4 separate regions of the Homo sapiens genome follow, and all the other regions are linked to region 1. The links are contacts of gene promoters, found by promoter capture Hi-C in human tissues and cell types (Jung and others, 2019). All regions are on one chromosome and are shown on one strand. The core of a region is centred on a gene start or on the middle of the fragment in contact, and the rest is flanking DNA. Distances in the headings are between cores, read along the strand shown.

Region 1 (4,453 bases), core at 834-3,333:
CGACAGGCCTGAAAAGTTAAATTTCATTATCTATAATTTCTAATCATAGAAGTAATTTGCCAAATGAAACAAAGCCAGTAAGTAATTTCTTAAGCAAGATTTTGAATTTAGATGTGTTTAAGTTCTCAGCCCACATTCTTTCCACTATATCAAGAAGCTTGTTGAAGATGCAGGAGGGCAGATCCCAGTACCTTCTTAAAAACTGTACATATTATGTTCTTGCTTCTTTGGGGCTTTTGTGAGTTAAGCTCCTACTTTTACATTTGTAAGCATTCAGTTTCCCACACAGTTTTAAAGGCTCTATTTAGGTTCCTCGCCCCATCTTTACAGGAAAGCATGCCATTATTGGCATTGATTAAATATTCATGGCGCTCCACCCTCTGGATTCCATGCCCAGCACCTGTCATAGTGCCACCTTACTGTTTGGACTAACGAGGGGTTGGTTTTCTTATATTAATTGGTAGTAAGCCCCTCATTTCCATTTTCCAGGTAACATGCTTGTGTGTTTGTTTTCAGGTATGCAGGCTATATAGATTGGTTAACAAGCATCTTTCACTTAAACAAATAGATAAAGAGCAGGTGTCTTCAGTTCCTTGTCCTCAAACTTAAATGGTGCATTAGCTCTGACTTCATTACTACTGACACAGGATTCCTTAAATCTCTATTCTGTAAACAAATAAACAAACAAAAAATACCCTTTTATCTCTACAGAAAATCCTGTACATGATAAGGATATTTTAAATTCTCTGGTTATTTTCTATACTCATTTTTTAGTTTATATATTTTCTTTGACGTATCCCATTTCAAATTTTCAAGGTTGACACATCATGCCTGTAATCTCTAGGGCTTAAAAGTCAATTTCCGTAAAGTACAACACACAGTCCACTTATTTTACAAACCAAGGGCAGTCAAACCAAGCCATGAAAAGTAATTTTTAGGTAGAAATTAGGCTACTATTCTTCATCAATACAGATGAAGCCTCATTATTGCCAAAGATCTTAATTACTATGATGATGATGATTCAGTAATCTAGATTTAATTTTCAAAGGAATTTCAAAAGGAAACTCTCCACATCTCATCCCACAACTATCCAAATGCAGACTCAAGCCTAAGTAGTATATGTCACATAAACACAAAAAAGGTGGGTGGCAGCGAAGGGGTTTGGGGATGTTTATGTGATCTGACTCTCTGTTGGACCAGTTAATTTTGATCCTTCACCTTCCTAAAGCATCCAAACCTTAGGTGCAGATTTAACTTCTCGCCATCCACGCCATCTAGTGGCTTGTATGTGTTACGTTTGGTTTTAAGGATGATTCCTAATGACTCGGGGGCGGGGTACGCGAAAAACAAAAAGGTTGGTAGCGACAATTTTCCTGTGTCTCTCTACCTCAGTAACCCCTCATACGAACACCTTTAACTCTTTTAACTATTTTAAATATGCGCAGTGATGCGCAGAGAGGATGAAGGGGACGCAAACTTTCAGAGACGCACGCCCCTTGACGATGACATTTAGAAAAGGGCTCCACATCCCTGTTATTCGTAAAGGACGGGAAAAGGAGTTGTGTCAAGACCTCGATCGAGGAGAGTCTCTGATTTTTTGGCAAGTTGGACAGATGGCATATCAATCCCTGCAACGTTAACAATCTGGTTTTGAAAATAAATAAAAACAGAAAGAGGAAATGCACTTAAAAATTCCGCGTCGGAGCTTTGCGGGTCTTGCCTTCCAGTCGCCCCCAGAAGACAACCAATTCCTGCGCATTCCGCTCCGCTCACCCTCCTTCCCAGCTTCTCTCGCTCTCTTTCCCCCCATTTTCCCACGCTCGCCTTGAACCGGGACTCGAGAGGCAGAAGCAAGGCACGGGTCCCCTTTCTCCTCTCCTCCACCAAACCACCGCAGCCCAGCACGTGAAGCTTCCCTTTGTTCATCCGAGGCTCGCTTTTCTCCCCAGCAGATCCACCTGGATGCTCTCCCTCGGTGACATTTTGCGCCGGGGTTGGTGGGTGGCTGGGGTGGAGCGAGAGGAGCCCGAGGGGGCGGGGGCGGAGAAAGGTCAAGCCGAGGGAAAGGCAGGAGACGCCTTTCCTAACCTGCGTGGCGGGGCGTGCGCGCGGTTATTTATTTATTTTCTCCTTATTTATTGATCGCACTAGCAGAGCAGCGCGGGGAGCCCGGGGAGATGCAGGACCACCCACTGGCGGGGAAGCAGCTAGCAGCCCTCCCGCGCCCCCGCGCTGCCGAGCGCCTTCTGCCTCCGCGCTCGGACGAGAGCCCGTGCCGGCCCCGGCCCCGGCCCCACCGCGCCAACGCCGCCCGCCCGGCCGCCCCGCAGCCCCGCCGCCCCGCAGCCCCGCACCGCGCTGGCCAGGCTCCCGCGACAGTGGCCCCGCAGTAAGTTGGCAGGAGCGAGTCCCCTCCGTTCTCGCCTCCCCCGCACCTTTTGAACTTGTTGCTGCTGCTCTGCTCGCCTGCGCCTGGCTTTTGGAAGGTGAAAAGGAGGAGGGAGGCACGGAGGGATGGGGGAAGGGAAAGAAGAGCTCGCTTGAGCTTTATTTATGCTCTCTCGGCGCATCGGATTCGGCTGCTCGCGAGCTGCTTTCTCTCCTCTTCCCTTTCCGGGTGCACGGCGAGGAGAAAGTCTCTATGCAACTAAGCCCCGGCGCGCACTTGGCCAGGTATGTACCGCGGGAGCGGCGCGTTCTGCGCGGAAGCAGATGCTGCTGCCGCCACGGCGGCGGCGGCTGCCAGCTCCTGAGCTCTGTAACTGTCACACTGCACCTGAGCTGAACTTGAAAAGAGAGTGAAGGGGCGATTGGGCGAACGCTTTTGGCAGACACAGAGGGTGTTTGTAGACGTGGGGGAGGAGAATCTCTATTAACGCCCCCCACCGTAACCACTGCACATCACCTCCATCTCTGCAAATACAGCCCGAGGAGTAGAGGCAGCAGCAGCTGGACCCCCAAAGAGAGACGTGGGGCAGCGGCTGTGACCGCATCTCCTGAGCTACAACAACAGGTCGCCTTTTTGAGACTCCTTTGGCGGGAAGGGCTACTTGGAAAGGAAGGTTTGAAAGAGTGAGAAGGGTAGGTGTAAGGGTTCCCTAATTCGTCGAAAGAATTCTATTGGGTGACTCTCGTTCGTCTTCTCTATCCTACACTCCACATACTGACCCTATATTATCCAGACTGTGCCGGGGAGAAATCAAAAACACCTGTTTGAAGAAACGGCTGCACCTGTGTGCTTATTTGTGCCAGAGGGTGGCCTAGCCCACCTGCAGGAAGAGATTTGGCTGGGTTCTGTTGAGGGTGATTGTTAGGACGTTGTATTTTGTTGCCATTATTCCAAATACCTGTCTTGGAGGGAAAGTTGCCCTTCTGAGAACTGTGACTTTACCAGGAGCCCTATCTTGGAATAAGAGTTACACCTCTGGACCACGTTTCTCACTAGTACTTTGCTTGACTGGAGGAAGTGGGTGACTTTTGGCTGCTTCGGTGACCCATTGTAGACGCCTCGTTACCCTTCTTCCTTCCGCTTCAAGTAATCATGGCGGCGGGGGTGGCAGCGTGGCTGCCTTTTGCAAGGGCAGCGGCTATCGGGTGGATGCCTGTGGCCTCGGGGCCTATGCCGGCTCCCCCGAGGCAGGAGAGGAAAAGGACCCAAGATGCTCTCATTGTGCTGAATGTGAGTGGCACCCGCTTCCAGACGTGGCAGGACACCCTGGAACGTTACCCAGACACTCTACTGGGCAGTTCTGAGAGGGACTTTTTCTACCACCCAGAAACTCAGCAGTATTTCTTTGACCGTGACCCAGACATCTTCCGCCACATCCTGAATTTCTACCGCACTGGGAAGCTCCACTATCCTCGCCACGAGTGCATCTCTGCTTACGATGAAGAACTGGCCTTCTTTGGCCTCATCCCGGAAATCATCGGCGACTGCTGTTATGAGGAGTACAAGGATCGCAGGCGAGAGAACGCCGAGCGCCTGCAGGACGACGCGGATACCGACACCGCTGGGGAGAGCGCCTTGCCCACCATGACTGCAAGGCAGAGGGTCTGGAGGGCCTTCGAGAACCCCCACACCAGCACGATGGCCCTGGTGTTCTACTATGTCACGGGGTTTTTCATTGCCGTCTCTGTCATCGCGAATGTGGTGGAAACAGTGCCGTGCGGATCAAGCCCAGGTCACATTAAAGAACTGCCCTGTGGAGAGCGGTATGCTGTGGCCTTCTTCTGCTTGGACACGGCCTGCGTCATGATCTTCACAGTTGAGTATTTGCTTCGCCTGGCTGCAGCGCCTAGTCGTTACCGTTTTGTGCGTAGTGTCATGAGTATCATCGACGTGGTGGCCATCCTGCCTTATTACATTGGGCTGGTGATGACAGACAATGAGGACGTCAGCGGAGCCTTTGTCACACTCCGAGTCTTCCGGGTCTTCAGGATCTTTAAGTTTTCC
Region 2 (4,453 bases), core at 580-3,079, 320 kb before region 1:
ATTTTACCATTTGCAGAATATCTGATTCTTCATGAGACACATAGAGAAATTAATGTTTGGTGCTTGATTCTCAGTGACAGTATGACTGACCAGGCTAGTGTTAAAACCTTTACTAAGGGCCTGGGGGGTTTTAGGAGCGAGGGATCATTGCATAGAGCCTTATTACTGCTTCCTCAAGCTTTCTTTCCAGTGTAAACCTCTTGTTTACACCAGGTAAAAACATGTTTTTCACTTTTAAAATCTTCTCAAAAACAACATGTTCAAAAACAAGTTTTAAATAAATATGTTTATTACATTACCTAAAAACAATGTTTTCACTTTGACAAAGTAAGATGGAAACACTGCCAAACAAGTTGCACATTTTAGGGCACAGGGAAATGAATCATGCTTCATTCATTTTCATGCAAATTATGTACATTACATGTATGCATATGTTTAGCTACAGTAAGTAAAATAAGTGGCACACAGTTTCCTAAAGTGGTTATACCAATCTACCCGGCCAACTCCGCATATGAGAGATCCAGCTGCTCCATTTTCAAATCAAGACATAGTATTTCTATTTTTCAGTTTCTTAGTTACAATGGTATGTGATGATATAAAATATTTTAATTGCAATATCTTGATTACCAATAATGCTGAATATCTTTCTTTTACGTTTATTTGTGAAGTGTTTGCTTTGCCGATTTTTCTATTTGGGTTTTGTATTTGTCTGTTTTGCTTATTGATTTGAGGAAGTTCTTTCAATACTGTTGATACAAATTCATTGTAATTCAGCTGTTTATAGAATCTTGTGAAATTATTCAAGTCATTTCAATAATTTGAGACTCATTTTATTTCCCAGAAAAAGGACCATTTTGGTAAGTGTTTCTGTGTACTTGTAAAAGGCATATTCAGAGTTGTTAGTTTCAGCATTCTAGATATGTAAACTATGTCTTGTTTTTGAATTTTGTTGTTAAATATTCTATATAATTACTGACTTTTTAATACTTGCTCTATCTGCTAGCAAGTTTCAACATGTTACAGTCTGATACTATAATTGAGCATTTGGTATTTTATTTTCAGATCTTTTTAATCTAATATTTTTTCCATTATATTTAAAGCTTATGATTTGTATGTATGTGTATGGTTCCATTTTGGTTTTCTTGTTATTCAAATATAAAAATTGTTGTCTTCTAGTGGAATACGTATACTTTCAATGTATACATTGCTATATTTGAGTTTTTGTTTGCCATCACTCATTTATTTTCTTATTTGACCCACCTATTTAATAACGTCATCTTCCTCTTCTTCAAGTAAAACTCTGACATTAGTAAAACCATGTATGTCATCATATTGCTGTGGAGACTAAATGAAATAAGCATAGGGTATATTTAGCAGACTCTGATTCATTTAGTCTTCATCATAATATTATACATCATATTACTAATGTTAGAGTTTCAATTGGACAAGATGAAAAAGTTCTAGAGGTAAATGGTGGGGATAGTTGTATAACAATCTGAATGTACTTAATGCCACAGAACTGTATATTGTCGTATGGTTAAAATGGTAAATTTCATGTTAATATGTTTTATCACAATAAAAATTTGGAAGTAAGGCAAATAACTAAATAACTAGCCCAGGATCACATACCTTGTGCTGTATTAAAACTGGAATTTAATCTTATATCTATCTGACTCAAAAAAATGCATATTCTTAACTGATATGGTGCACTTTGATATCATTTAAAATGGTATTTATGTAAATTACAGCCCCCAGTGAAATAGGTTGTATTTAGAATGATATAATTTCTACTAAAAAAACTGAAAAATAGAAATGTTCTGCAAAAGGAGACAATGCTGTTGTGTAATGAAAAAATACCTCAATTGCCATATAATTAAAATCTTGACTAGATATTTGTTCTAGGGAAAATAACTTAATTTTCCAGGGCCTCAGATTCTTGATCTATAAAAGTAGGAAAACACTTTTACTAATTACTATGTACACCTTATATGACAGTTAAATTCAACAACTGATGGTTCATATTCGCTTAAAGATATATTAACTAGAAAAGCTGACACTAGTAGTTGATTGCTTAAATGTATAATGATTGGTTATTGTGTTTGTACTAAATTATGTTAATTAATGTTGGGCTCATAAAACAATGCCCCAAAATATGATGCTTTGGCTTTCTGAGTGCCTTTGATTAAAGAAAATTGAAAGGCATCTGAAATAAGCCCCAAAACCAAGGTCTCTCTACAACCTTTCCCCAGCACCCTGTATCTCTGATCTTCTTTCTTTCCCAAAGTGCTGGAAAGGATTTGCTCTGGAGTTTTCTTAACTGGCTAGAGAAGCTTCATTCCAAAAGAAATGCTAGCGTCTTAAAACCCCTTCCCCAGGTATCTCATCAAATAACCAGGAAAGTTTAACCATTAGAAAAGAGGAGAGACTGGGAGACATCACCATGCACAGAAAGAATTTACACTAATTCTTCTGAGGGTAGCTCTGAGTGGTTGCCTGGAAGACTTATCTGAAGCATAGGACAACCTTTGTTCACAGTGAAGTTCCACCCTTTACCACCACCTCCCATAGAACTCAGAGACACTTTGTCCCAGGCTATTGTTCTTTGGGTTCATTCAATTCCATCTGAAAATAATCGACTCCTGTAACCCCTCATTTTCCCTTCCCTTATAAAGATGGATATATAAGCATCTAGATCTCATTAAGTTATTAGGTAATTATTTTCCTGAGATTCCCACATGCTTATGTGTATTAAATAAATTTGGTTTGTCTTTTTCTCCTATTAATCTGCCTTTTGTCAGTTCAGCTTCAGCAAACCTTCAGTAGGCAGAGAGGAAATTTCCCTCTGGCCCTACACTAAACTAAACATGTAGTTTAAAGGTTTAATTTTAAAAAATACAAGGAATGCGTTTGAGATTTTTTTATATGCTAAAGGAAAAAAAGGTTTTTTTTTATTTTTCTATATATTCCGAAATCAAAGGTACATGTAAAAATATTGGTAGACCTAATGGAAGATATGGCCTCAGTTCTTACTCTGTGCCCAAATGTCGGCAATTCTTCAATACAGAAATTCACATTTGATAAAATATTTCAAGATTCTGGAACACAGAATTTACCCTAACTGGAAATATTCATACTACTACTTATTTTAACTCCCAATCACATATTTTTCTCCTTATCTTACTTCACTTAGCCCATTACAAATAACTGAAATTAATGTGTTTTATTTTATGTTACTTTTAAGTTGTGTTAGCTTCTTTAAAGTGGTCCATACCAAAATGTTAGCTAATTTTATTTTATATGGTAACTGTTTCCTTGGTGGTGTTATAAGTTTCAATTAAGCCTCACCTCAAAGAGAAAGGTTAAGTAATAAAGGTATTGTCAACATTGTAGTTTTAATAGCTATTCTTTATTTCCCAATTTATGTCATATTTACACCTATTGATTTTATAATTGAATAGAACAATTTAATTTAGAGACTACAGATATAGGAGACTTAGCTTGAACTTAAATTCCATGTTCCTCACTTATTACAGGCAAGTTATTAACCTCTGAGGCCTTTGATTTCATCTTTAAAATAAAGGTAGTAATATTTATTTCTGCTTTATTCTGAGGAATAAATGGGAAAGTATATGATAAAATGCAAACTTAAAATGTTATTTTCTGTCACTTTCAGATACAAAATGAAAATTCAGAATTTAACTGACTTTCACAAGTATATTCCAAGTTGGTGGTAAAATAAACACTAGAATCAAATGTTTGTATTTTTTGAATATTTATGTATAATGCCTTTCAGTTATATTGATAAAAATAATGCATGCTTTTATTGATATGTTATTAGGTTGAGGTGAACAATGTAAAGTTTATTTGTACTTTTCTATTTGTTAGGGCATCTGGAAAAAGCACAATCTCTTTTATATTATAAACTTTTATCTACACAATTTTGTAACATGAATAGAGAACTTCCAATCACAGAGAGAGTAAAAAGTGGAGCCAGTATTGGAATGTAGAAAAACATTGACTTTCAAAACTAATTTTTCTAATATATTACTAGGTTCTGTATTACATAGTATGGGATAATTTAGAAATATAACTGATAGAGAATTAGGTTATAAATGGCTAAGTCTGTTTAGAGAAAAGAGATAAGCACAATAAAAATAAATGAGTACATGTTATAAATAACATTTGAAGACAATATGAAAGCTCATGAAACAGCATAGCTTACTTGACAAGAGAATGGTATAGGCAATATACATGACAGAAATTTAAATGAGGTGAAACAAACCTCTCTCTCTCTCTTCTCAGAACCTGGCTAATAGACTTGGAATGGCAGGTTTGATAGGCTTATACTAGTTCCCCATCCAGGTTTAATTTCTCATATCACCCATTAACTTCAACCTCCCTTTATAACAATATTACCTATGCCTATAAGGAAAATGTTTCTTCAGATTTCAAC
Region 3 (4,453 bases), core at 613-3,112, 290 kb after region 1:
CTTTAGTTAAATGTGATCTTTGAAACATGATACATAAGTCTTCTGCATCAGAATGTGAGTTCATGAATTGATTTTCTCTTAACCAAGAGAAAATTAAGCAAGGCCTTAATGAATAGTAACTTTGATTTCCTAAGGACATATTGTGAGAAATCCACCGTCCTTTGGAGCAGAAAGTTCTCAGATGAAGGACAATGCTAACGTAAAATAGATGATTTCATGTTGTATTCAAAACAAGTTTCTATACACTGTGGTAGAACTGGAATGACTTTCCTATTTCTCTACTGAAATCATAATGTGAATGTTTTTCATAAAATAATAATTTTAAGCAAACAGCATGTTGGCCAAAATTGTTGGGTCGTTCTCAGTTAAAATTTAGCATTAATATGACTAACTCATAAGTAATTCAACATTGATATAAACACTGCTTAGTTTCCACAGAAAAATATTTTTCCAAAGTCCCAGAAATCATTTTTGCAGTTCATTTTTATTACACAAAAGCTTGCTGTATATTAATCAGCAGAAGAAATTTTAACTATTCAGTAGTTTTAAAAGGCTACATTTAAGACTTGCTACTTGAAGTGGAATGATGAATCAAATTTGATGTAAAATATTTTGCCTTAAAAAATCCTCCAATGAAATAATCAGACGGAAAAGCGACAGTAAAATGTAGAACTTGTCATTTTTAAGAGCCAATATCATCTTAAATGATAGGGATTCAGTTTCTATGGAGCCCTTCTTGGGCTCAAGTTCAACACTTTAATGTGATAATCAGCTTAAGCTAAAATTTTTTGCACTTTTGGACAGAAAGGTTTCGTGTTTGAAACAGATGCAAATGAATGCTAAGAAAGGAGAAATCTTGCAGAATTCAATTTAAAGAGCTACCTTCCATAAAATTCTGTCTACCGGCCTGTCTCATCGAATGAAGCAGCAGGCAGGGAAACCAAGGTTATCAGTCCAGTATTCTCCTGCTTGAAATTTTCTACACCATGTGTTCCTCTCAGTGTCTCACATTTTAAGCACTGAGTAATTGCTCAAATTTATTGGAATCATAAATGTTAAAAGATTATCGAGACAATTCTAATCCAGTTTGCTAATTTTAGAGAAGAAAATCGAATTCAGAGAAGTTGTATGTGACTAGCTCAATGCTACAAAAATTTGACCAAGGTACCAAAATGTCCAATTGTTATACTGAATGTTGATTAGTCTGTAAGTTAGCCATTAGTACTGTCACATTACTGCGATTTTGCAAACAGTAAAACTAATTAACAAATATACCAATATGTTTGTGATCAAACGATCAATCTTTTGAAACAGTTACCTCAAGAGGATATAGAAACAGTCTAGTAATTTGCAAAATGTTTTAAGTCACCTTTTCAGAACCAGATTTTATGACATTAATCCATTAATTTATTTATGACTTAACAGCATTGAGAGCTTACTCTGCATTCAGCACTGCAAATAAAGAAGTAAAAGATGGTATGTTCTTGTTCTTATGGACAGCAGGAAAAGTAAAGACAGATGACAGGAGAGATGAGTAGAAAATATGGTAAATAAAATTGGAAGATTGATTAGATATAAGCTATGCAAGTGACAGCAGAGAAGGAGAAGGTTATTAATAATAATTTACATATACTATATTAGGCACTGATCTAAGTCTTTATCAAAACTAATCCTCAAACCAATCCTATGAGGTATAACTATTGTCATCTGTATTTTACAGGTGAGGAAACAGATTCAGAAAGGTTGAAAAACTTGCCCAAAGTTACAAGGCTGGGCTATAAACCCAGGAAGATCAACTATAGAGTCCACATTCTTAAACATTAAGCTACCTGATTTTTTTTTTTTTTTTTTTTTTTTTTTTTTGAGATGGAGTTTTGCTCTTGTTGCCCAGGCTGGAGTGAAATGGCACAATCTCGGCTCACTGCATCCTTCGCCTCCCAGGTACAAGCGATTCTGCTGTCCCAGCCTCACAAGTAGCTAGGATTACAGGCATGTGCCACCACATCTGACTAATTTTTTTGTATTTAGTAGAGACGGGGCTTCACCATGTTAGTCAGGCTGGCCGCGAACTCCTTACCTCAGGTGATCCACCTGCCTCGGCCTCCCAAAGTGCTGGGATTACAGGCATTCGCCACTGCACCCGGCCGCTATCTGATTTTGATAGACTACTTATGAAGACTTGAGAGTCTAAGCAGATAACAGTATTTCTGAAATAAATTGGGTATGAAGGAGTAGAAGTTGGTAATGAGGAAAGGAAAAAGATGGTCAGTTTCTTTATTTGGACAGATTCAACGTATCTGTTAATGAGTCAGCATTTGTAAATATTCATCAAGGCTGCAGACATCTCTTTGAAAGTTATAAGCGCAAGAGGACAAGAGGTAGCAGTTAAAAATATGAATATGGCCAAGTTTCCTCAGAGAGCATATTGAGTGAGAAATGGGGTTCCCTGAAGTACAAACACCAACATTTAAGGAAATATAGCAGAAAATAAGACAACAAAATTAACTGAGATAAAGATGTCAAAAGGAAAAAATAATAAAACATGAGAACGTTATATGAGGAATTCAAGAACAAGGGCATGTTTCACGGTATTGACTTTAAAGAGAATTCAAGAAAGACAAGGACTAAACATTGGGAGTTGATAACAAGGAAGTTATTCCAGCAAAAGAGTAAAAAGCTATTCTGTGGTATGTAGAAGCATGATTTTGAGGTGGTCAGGAGTTAGTGACAAGATGACCTCCTTTGAAGAAACTTTATTACCAAGTGAAAAAAATAAGAGTGAAGGGAAGCAGAAAAGGATTTTTTTTTCTGAATAATCACATCTTCATGTTTGTATAAAAGAGACTGCATCAAGTTGATATCTCACTTTTAAATGATAAACTTGAATTGTATTCACAAACAAAAAAGTCTCTTAAGGGGAAATTATTTGCCAACATTTGAGACATTTAAAAAAGTATGTTGCAAACCCTAAGATTAATTCCATAAAATAAAACTCAGATATATTTTAGTAAATGTACATAGCACCAGAAACTGCACTTGGCTCTAAAGGTCAATAATAAGCAAATACAGACACAGTTCAGAAATGAATTTTTGTTAAACAAAGATAATATGCCAAATTACTATAAGATAATGAAAGAGAGCATATTTCATTAATAAATTATATAAGGTAAAGTATTTTTTGAAAAGATATTTGGCAGCTGCAATAATATTTAGAAAAAGAAATGCTTCAATCTATCTGCAATACAATTAAATTTGGATTAGAAATGTCATGCAATATGGAATTTGTATATTCTTGGTTTATTTTAGACCCTGATTAAGCCATATCTTGTTTATCATAGTTAGAGGTTCTAATGTTATTAACGTTTCTTCTAAAATAGGATTCTGACACATCTATAAGAGAAAAGCTTGATCACCATTAGACAAATAAGTAAACATTCCCCCTTTCCATTATTATAAAGAATATGCACATTGTAAGTTCAAGAATAGTTTAGAAAAAAAATACTGAAGTAGTAAAGGGCCCATAAAACCCTTCCTCTTGTATTTTCTATCTCAGATTGCAACACTGTTCACTTAATTACCCAACATGTTAGAAACTGTGCTATACCTTCATTTCCCCATTGCCCGCATAAATCACTACTCCCATTCAGTTCTACTTGTGTATACATGAAGCCTAGCTATCATCTAGATTTGAGTTATCATTTTCTTTAGTCTTAGAACAAATCAAACTGCTTTCAATTCTGCTCCGTCTCAATCTCAATCCATTCCACAGACCTAGGGATCATTCTGAAATGGAAATCAATATCTTCAATGTCTTTTGATCATCAACAGATGGAAGCTCAAGATTCTCAACATGATTTTAAAAAGCTTAATGATCTGACTCATGTTTTCTTCCATCTCAACATTCAGGCCAAACTGAACCCTCACAGTATTTCAAATACTCCAGGCAGAATCCTATTCCAGCCTTTGCAGAAACTGGCCCCTCTCCATGTAATACCCTATCCCCATCTTGCCAACTTCTTTACCAGGCTAATGCCTACTCTTCTTTCATTTGCCCAGATAGATATCTTCTATACAAATCCTCCCTCAAAGCCACCAGATTGAATTAGGCATTTCTCCCAAAGTTCCCCTTGAAGCCTTTACTTATCCCATCAGAAAATTTATAAAACTATGCTGAAATTGCCTCTTTACATATAATCTATCTACATGAGGCAACTTAAAGACAAAGTGTTTGTCTTCTTTACTTTTAGACATATACCAGCAGAAGAATAAACAAATAAGAAAAACTCATTTCTATATATAATATACCAATAAATTTGGACAAATAACTTTCCACAAGCCTTTGTTTACACATCTGTAAAAGCATGGAATTACAGAAAAGAGAAAAAGGTATAATAAAGCTAGAACCCATCAGTAATAAGGCAAATTTTAATATATGCTATATTGTTGAAATTTT
Region 4 (4,453 bases), core at 1,391-3,890, 270 kb after region 1:
ATGCAGTGATGCTCACATTTCCCAAACTTCTTAAACAGGTCAACTGTAAGAGAAGTGGTACCCAAGGAAGCTGCCTTCTAGAAGGATTGCTGTGTCTACACAGGCAACTTCCAACCGCTATAATGGATAAGTCGATCAAAATAATGGATCAAATTTATCAAAATAAATGTTCACATGTTTGACTGGTTTCTTTGAATAGGATTCACTCTCTATAAAAAAAAATAACAATTTTAAGTACTTTCAATGTCCAAATTTGTTAGTTTCTGTTATATAACTAAAAAATATTTTGTAAGAGTGTAATGTTAACTTACTGACTTGATAGTTTCAGATTGACTAGGCTATTCATTTTTAAATGTCTTTTCAATTTATTGAACATTATTATATTATTAAAAATAATTCAGGATATGAAAACGTAGAACAATATCATTCCTTTATCCTTCTCCCCACCCTAGCCCATGCTCTATTTCAGATTTCCCTCCAGCACTTTTGTAAATATAGTGAAAAAATAGTAGAAAAATACACAGTCATAAAATAGTCCCTGTTATTAGATTCAAAAATCATGAAAGTGCCCATTGGGTTCCCATTAAGTTTTTAAACCTAGACACCAAATTTCTGTCCTTATTTTAACTTAAATAGATGGAAGAGAGAGAACTCTAGCTCCTTTGAGTTACTACTGCTATATAATAGATCAGTTATTCCCAAACCTCACTGATAATCAGAAACAACACTGGGAAAGCTTTATTAAAAAAAGAGGTGCTCTGATTGACTATATTTATTAAGATAATGAAGGAGATGAAATTTTTTTTTCCATATAGACCAGGTCGTGGATTCCATCTTTAATGTGAGTCTTTCTCTACCTATGCAAATACCCACACTAAAAGTAGCTGCAACAGGACCTTGTGAAAGAAAGACCAGAGAGTTTACAAGTTCAAATTCCAAAATCCTAAGTCTGGAGAAGGATTTTCTATGCTCATGCCTGAGACTAGCATGTTCCAAGCACAAAAGGTCCTTCAGTTGGCTGCCACCAAGACAGACCATGGTCAACTCATTTTCCAGCTGCCTTTTTGGCTGCATGTCTGGAAGCACCAGATAATCTGAGAGCAGGAGGAGGATCTTGGTCTCAGTGGATTGCATAAGCATGGTGTGATAATTCTTCAGCTCAGGATCAAAGAGAAATGGGCCATATTATGTCACTAATCATCAACTTGTATGTATATGTGTATGTTTAATAATAAATTTGTAGACACCCAGGGCAATTCATTTGAAAGTAGTTTATAACCTATGTCATATTCAATCTTCTATTCAGCATCTTTCTTTATGATGAAGAATAAATCATTATAATGTTCTGAATGTTTACATTAAACACATAAACCATTTTACAGTCATTTATTGATTTAATGTTTCTACGACCTATTTTATTAAATATTTTTAAATACTTTGATATCAGTAACATGGGTCAAGTATTTGCTTAACACAAGTGGGTAAATTAATGGTGCTGTAAATATAACCTGAAACTTTAGATCATCAGGACTTTGTCCTCCAGTTTAAAGGCAATAAAATTAATGACACTGTCACTGTCAATTTTCAGATGATAATATCAATATATTGGATTAGATTCAAATGTATTGCAGTGTGTGCTTACCAAACATTGAGTAATTTGATTGCATATTCAAGTGGTCAATAATTTTTAAGTAATTTAGAATAAGTTTTTTAAGAGGGTTTGGGAGAAACAATCACACTTGACACTATTCATCTGGCTCATTTTTATGTCACCTTATTAGGGTGAATCAGTTATAAAATAAATTGATTTATTTTATTCTTCTCCAAGTGTATAAGTTTTCAACTGTATTGATCCTACATAATTGCATGTAAAATAATAAAATTACCCTTATAAGTCTCCCAACTTCTCTCACATCTACAGCATAAGGAGTGTGACCTAATGCTAAAGTAGCTCGAATTGAAATGCCCTAACCATTCATCCATGTTCTATATAGTTCATGTCAACCTGATTCCCTTTTATTATGAGATTTGTCCTCTCAGTGCCTGATCCCTCAGGGAACCAATTGAATTCTTTTATTTCTAAATAATTGAGGAGACAATCTTACATTTTCCAATGGTCTATTGATAGCCACTGCTTCAACTTGGAAACCTGAGCACATGGCTTGGAAGAGATGGTGAATACCAAAATGATGTCTGTTTTAACAATTCCTTGCATTACAATGTAGCAAATAGCAACTATTTATTGCTCACTTGCTATCAGTCAGGCAATGTAATAAATAGTTCTGTGATAGCAGTCCAGCGAGGTAAGGATTATTCTTGTTAACTGGATCATTTGACCCAACTTACTCTTACGGAAAGTCAATTTTGGTAATTTTGCATCCAGAAAAAGATAATACACACTCCTACATATGCACACATACACACAGCCCTCATACAGTATTGACATGTATTATAGACATTCACTAAGGTTTTATTAAGGAGATAAGTGGTTTCCATTGCATGTTTCGTGGAATTTCTTTAAAAATCCAAGCAACATAACCTCAAAATATATATATATATATCTAACCGATGTTATCTTCCAGATTCTTTCTCTGATATGCCAACATCAGTCCCTATGGTTTTGCCCTTTTTTTTCACTTCCTCTCTGGCTACTTCTGTCTCCTTCTCACTCCAGTTTTATGACCTCCAGGGTTTCCTCATTTTTCCCCAGCAGAGCATGCCTGTTTTTGTCTTCTTTGGTTATCCTCTTACTGCGTGTCGATTTTCCAATTAGGACTAACAACTTTCCCCTTAAGAGATACACACAAAAAAAAGAGAAGAAATTAAAATATTTTAGAATGATTTTCTCTGTCACATTTGCACTTTACAGATAAGAAAAATGTAGTTAAAAATGAATTCCTGAGAAGTCAAGTAGCTTGTTCAGCTGGTTAAATACTTAAAATACTATTTTAATACAAATTTGAATGGGTGATTATATTCCAAAATTTTGTTTTTTTCTAATATGTAACATTGTCTTACTGTGGTACAAATTATGTCTAAACCTATGAGCTTTAAAAAACAGAGACTATTGTAATGTATGTACAATGTGTGCTTTATTTGAAACCCCTACTGATTTTCAAAACTAGTCTATTCCTTTTATCTTTCCTTTTTAAGTAAGGAGTGCATTGTCCATATGGGCACCTACTCTGCAAAAAGTTTGGAGATTTGTTTTCAGCCAATCTGTCTTCTGAATAGTAGCTGTTATTGGACACAACTGACTCTCATCCATTTCTGATAAGAACCCAAATTTTCAGCAATTATTATCTTCTATGAATTTTTTGATTATGTGTATAACTGGGATAGACCATGGCCCTAACCAACTAGTCTGGAAAGTTGTGAGAGAATAGACATGGAAATTACTACATGACTCCTGAGAAAGCAAATACTGATGATTACTGTCTGCTTCCATGACCAACTTGAATTATGAGTTCTGACAAGAAAAAACATTAGAATTAATGGGAAAATGTTTATTCCTCTCTGAACAGGCTACCAAGAAAAAATGAAGATGTTTTTATTGAGACAGGAGTATACTGTAGAAAACAAATTTCTTAAAAGAGTTGAGGTTATATGTTAAGGCAAATTATAATAGGTTAAGAGCAGCAGGAAGCAAGACAGAAAGGTAATTACAGCTGAGAGGATTAATAGAAATTATTATAAATGGCTCATGCTCGGATTATATTATGTGAGACATAGAATCTTATCTTGTACATAGTTTTGAGCAAAGATGTCATTTAATTTACATCTGTACTCTAAGATTTTATTTCCTAAAATGGAGTTATAAGAAGTACTATCATCACTAAAATATTTATTTTATCCCAAATTGAAAATTATCTAAGGAAAGAATTTTAAAAGTATAACCATTCATAAATTAATAATCACTATGCAATCACAGGATTCTGGAATTATTTTCATTAGCGATTATTATTAACCTAAAATTAGCAGTGGACTCTTGACCTTGGCCTTGCAATTGGTTGATTCTTAAAAATGTATGAATCATGGCCACAACTGCAACAATAGTTCAAACACAATCAAATTCTCATGGCATATTTTGCTCTTTGATCTTGGTAATAATTTCTGACCTTGATAATCATTACACGTTTTCCCACAAATTCATTCTCAATGACTTTTGCTCATTTCTTAATTCTTCAGTGACTGAAAAAGCTAATTCATTAATGTGGGAGTTCAAAATCACCTGGTTTTCTTGGGAAATTAAGTGATAAAAGATAATAAGAGATACTGAGTCTAAGACTGCTGAGAATTCCCTTATTTTACCTTGGAAATAAGTGCAAGTCTGATTATTAAAAAATGAAGTTAACTTCTACTTAGAGAAAACCTCTGAGAATATTCAGTACTAGTAGTTCCTTCTTGCTCCTGAAAATGACTTTAGAGATCTTTTCACATTTCTGTAAACTCC

What was found. Contacts are between HindIII fragments. The study calls those that stand out against the background at their distance.
Region 2: a contact is called between a fragment that was not itself captured here and the fragment with the promoter of KCND2 in region 1, in 4 of the 25 tissues and cell types used here (IMR-90 fibroblasts, dorsolateral prefrontal cortex, lymphoblastoid cells and 1 more).
Region 3: a contact is called between a fragment that was not itself captured here and the fragment with the promoter of KCND2 in region 1, in 3 of the 25 tissues and cell types used here (dorsolateral prefrontal cortex, hippocampus and lymphoblastoid cells).
Region 4: a contact is called between a fragment that was not itself captured here and the fragment with the promoter of KCND2 in region 1, in 2 of the 25 tissues and cell types used here (bladder and lymphoblastoid cells).

What each region holds. Positions count from the first base shown.
Region 1 is chr7:120,271,092-120,275,544 of GRCh38, forward strand. It overlaps KCND2 (potassium voltage-gated channel subfamily D member 2), which reads left to right and starts at 2,084. Exons shown (of 6, transcript NM_012281.3): 1 at 2,084-4,453. The coding sequence starts at 3,542. RefSeq lists silencers at 1,171-1,270, 2,190-2,339 and an enhancer at 2,780-2,849. The HindIII fragment of the contact is 5,227 bases long and covers 1,035-4,453 here.
Region 2 is chr7:119,952,376-119,956,828 of GRCh38, forward strand. No RefSeq gene overlaps it. Among named protein-coding and RNA genes, the nearest start is that of LINC02476, 47 kb to the left of the region's middle. The HindIII fragment of the contact is 5,067 bases long and covers 1-4,363 here.
Region 3 is chr7:120,559,766-120,564,218 of GRCh38, forward strand. All of the region lies in intron 1 of KCND2 (potassium voltage-gated channel subfamily D member 2), which reads left to right. Among named protein-coding and RNA genes, the nearest start is that of KCND2, 290 kb to the left of the region's middle. The HindIII fragment of the contact is 3,543 bases long and covers 92-3,634 here.
Region 4 is chr7:120,540,602-120,545,054 of GRCh38, forward strand. The region is part of intron 1 of KCND2 (potassium voltage-gated channel subfamily D member 2); the gene reads left to right. Among named protein-coding and RNA genes, the nearest start is that of KCND2, 270 kb to the left of the region's middle. The HindIII fragment of the contact is 8,795 bases long and covers 1-4,453 here.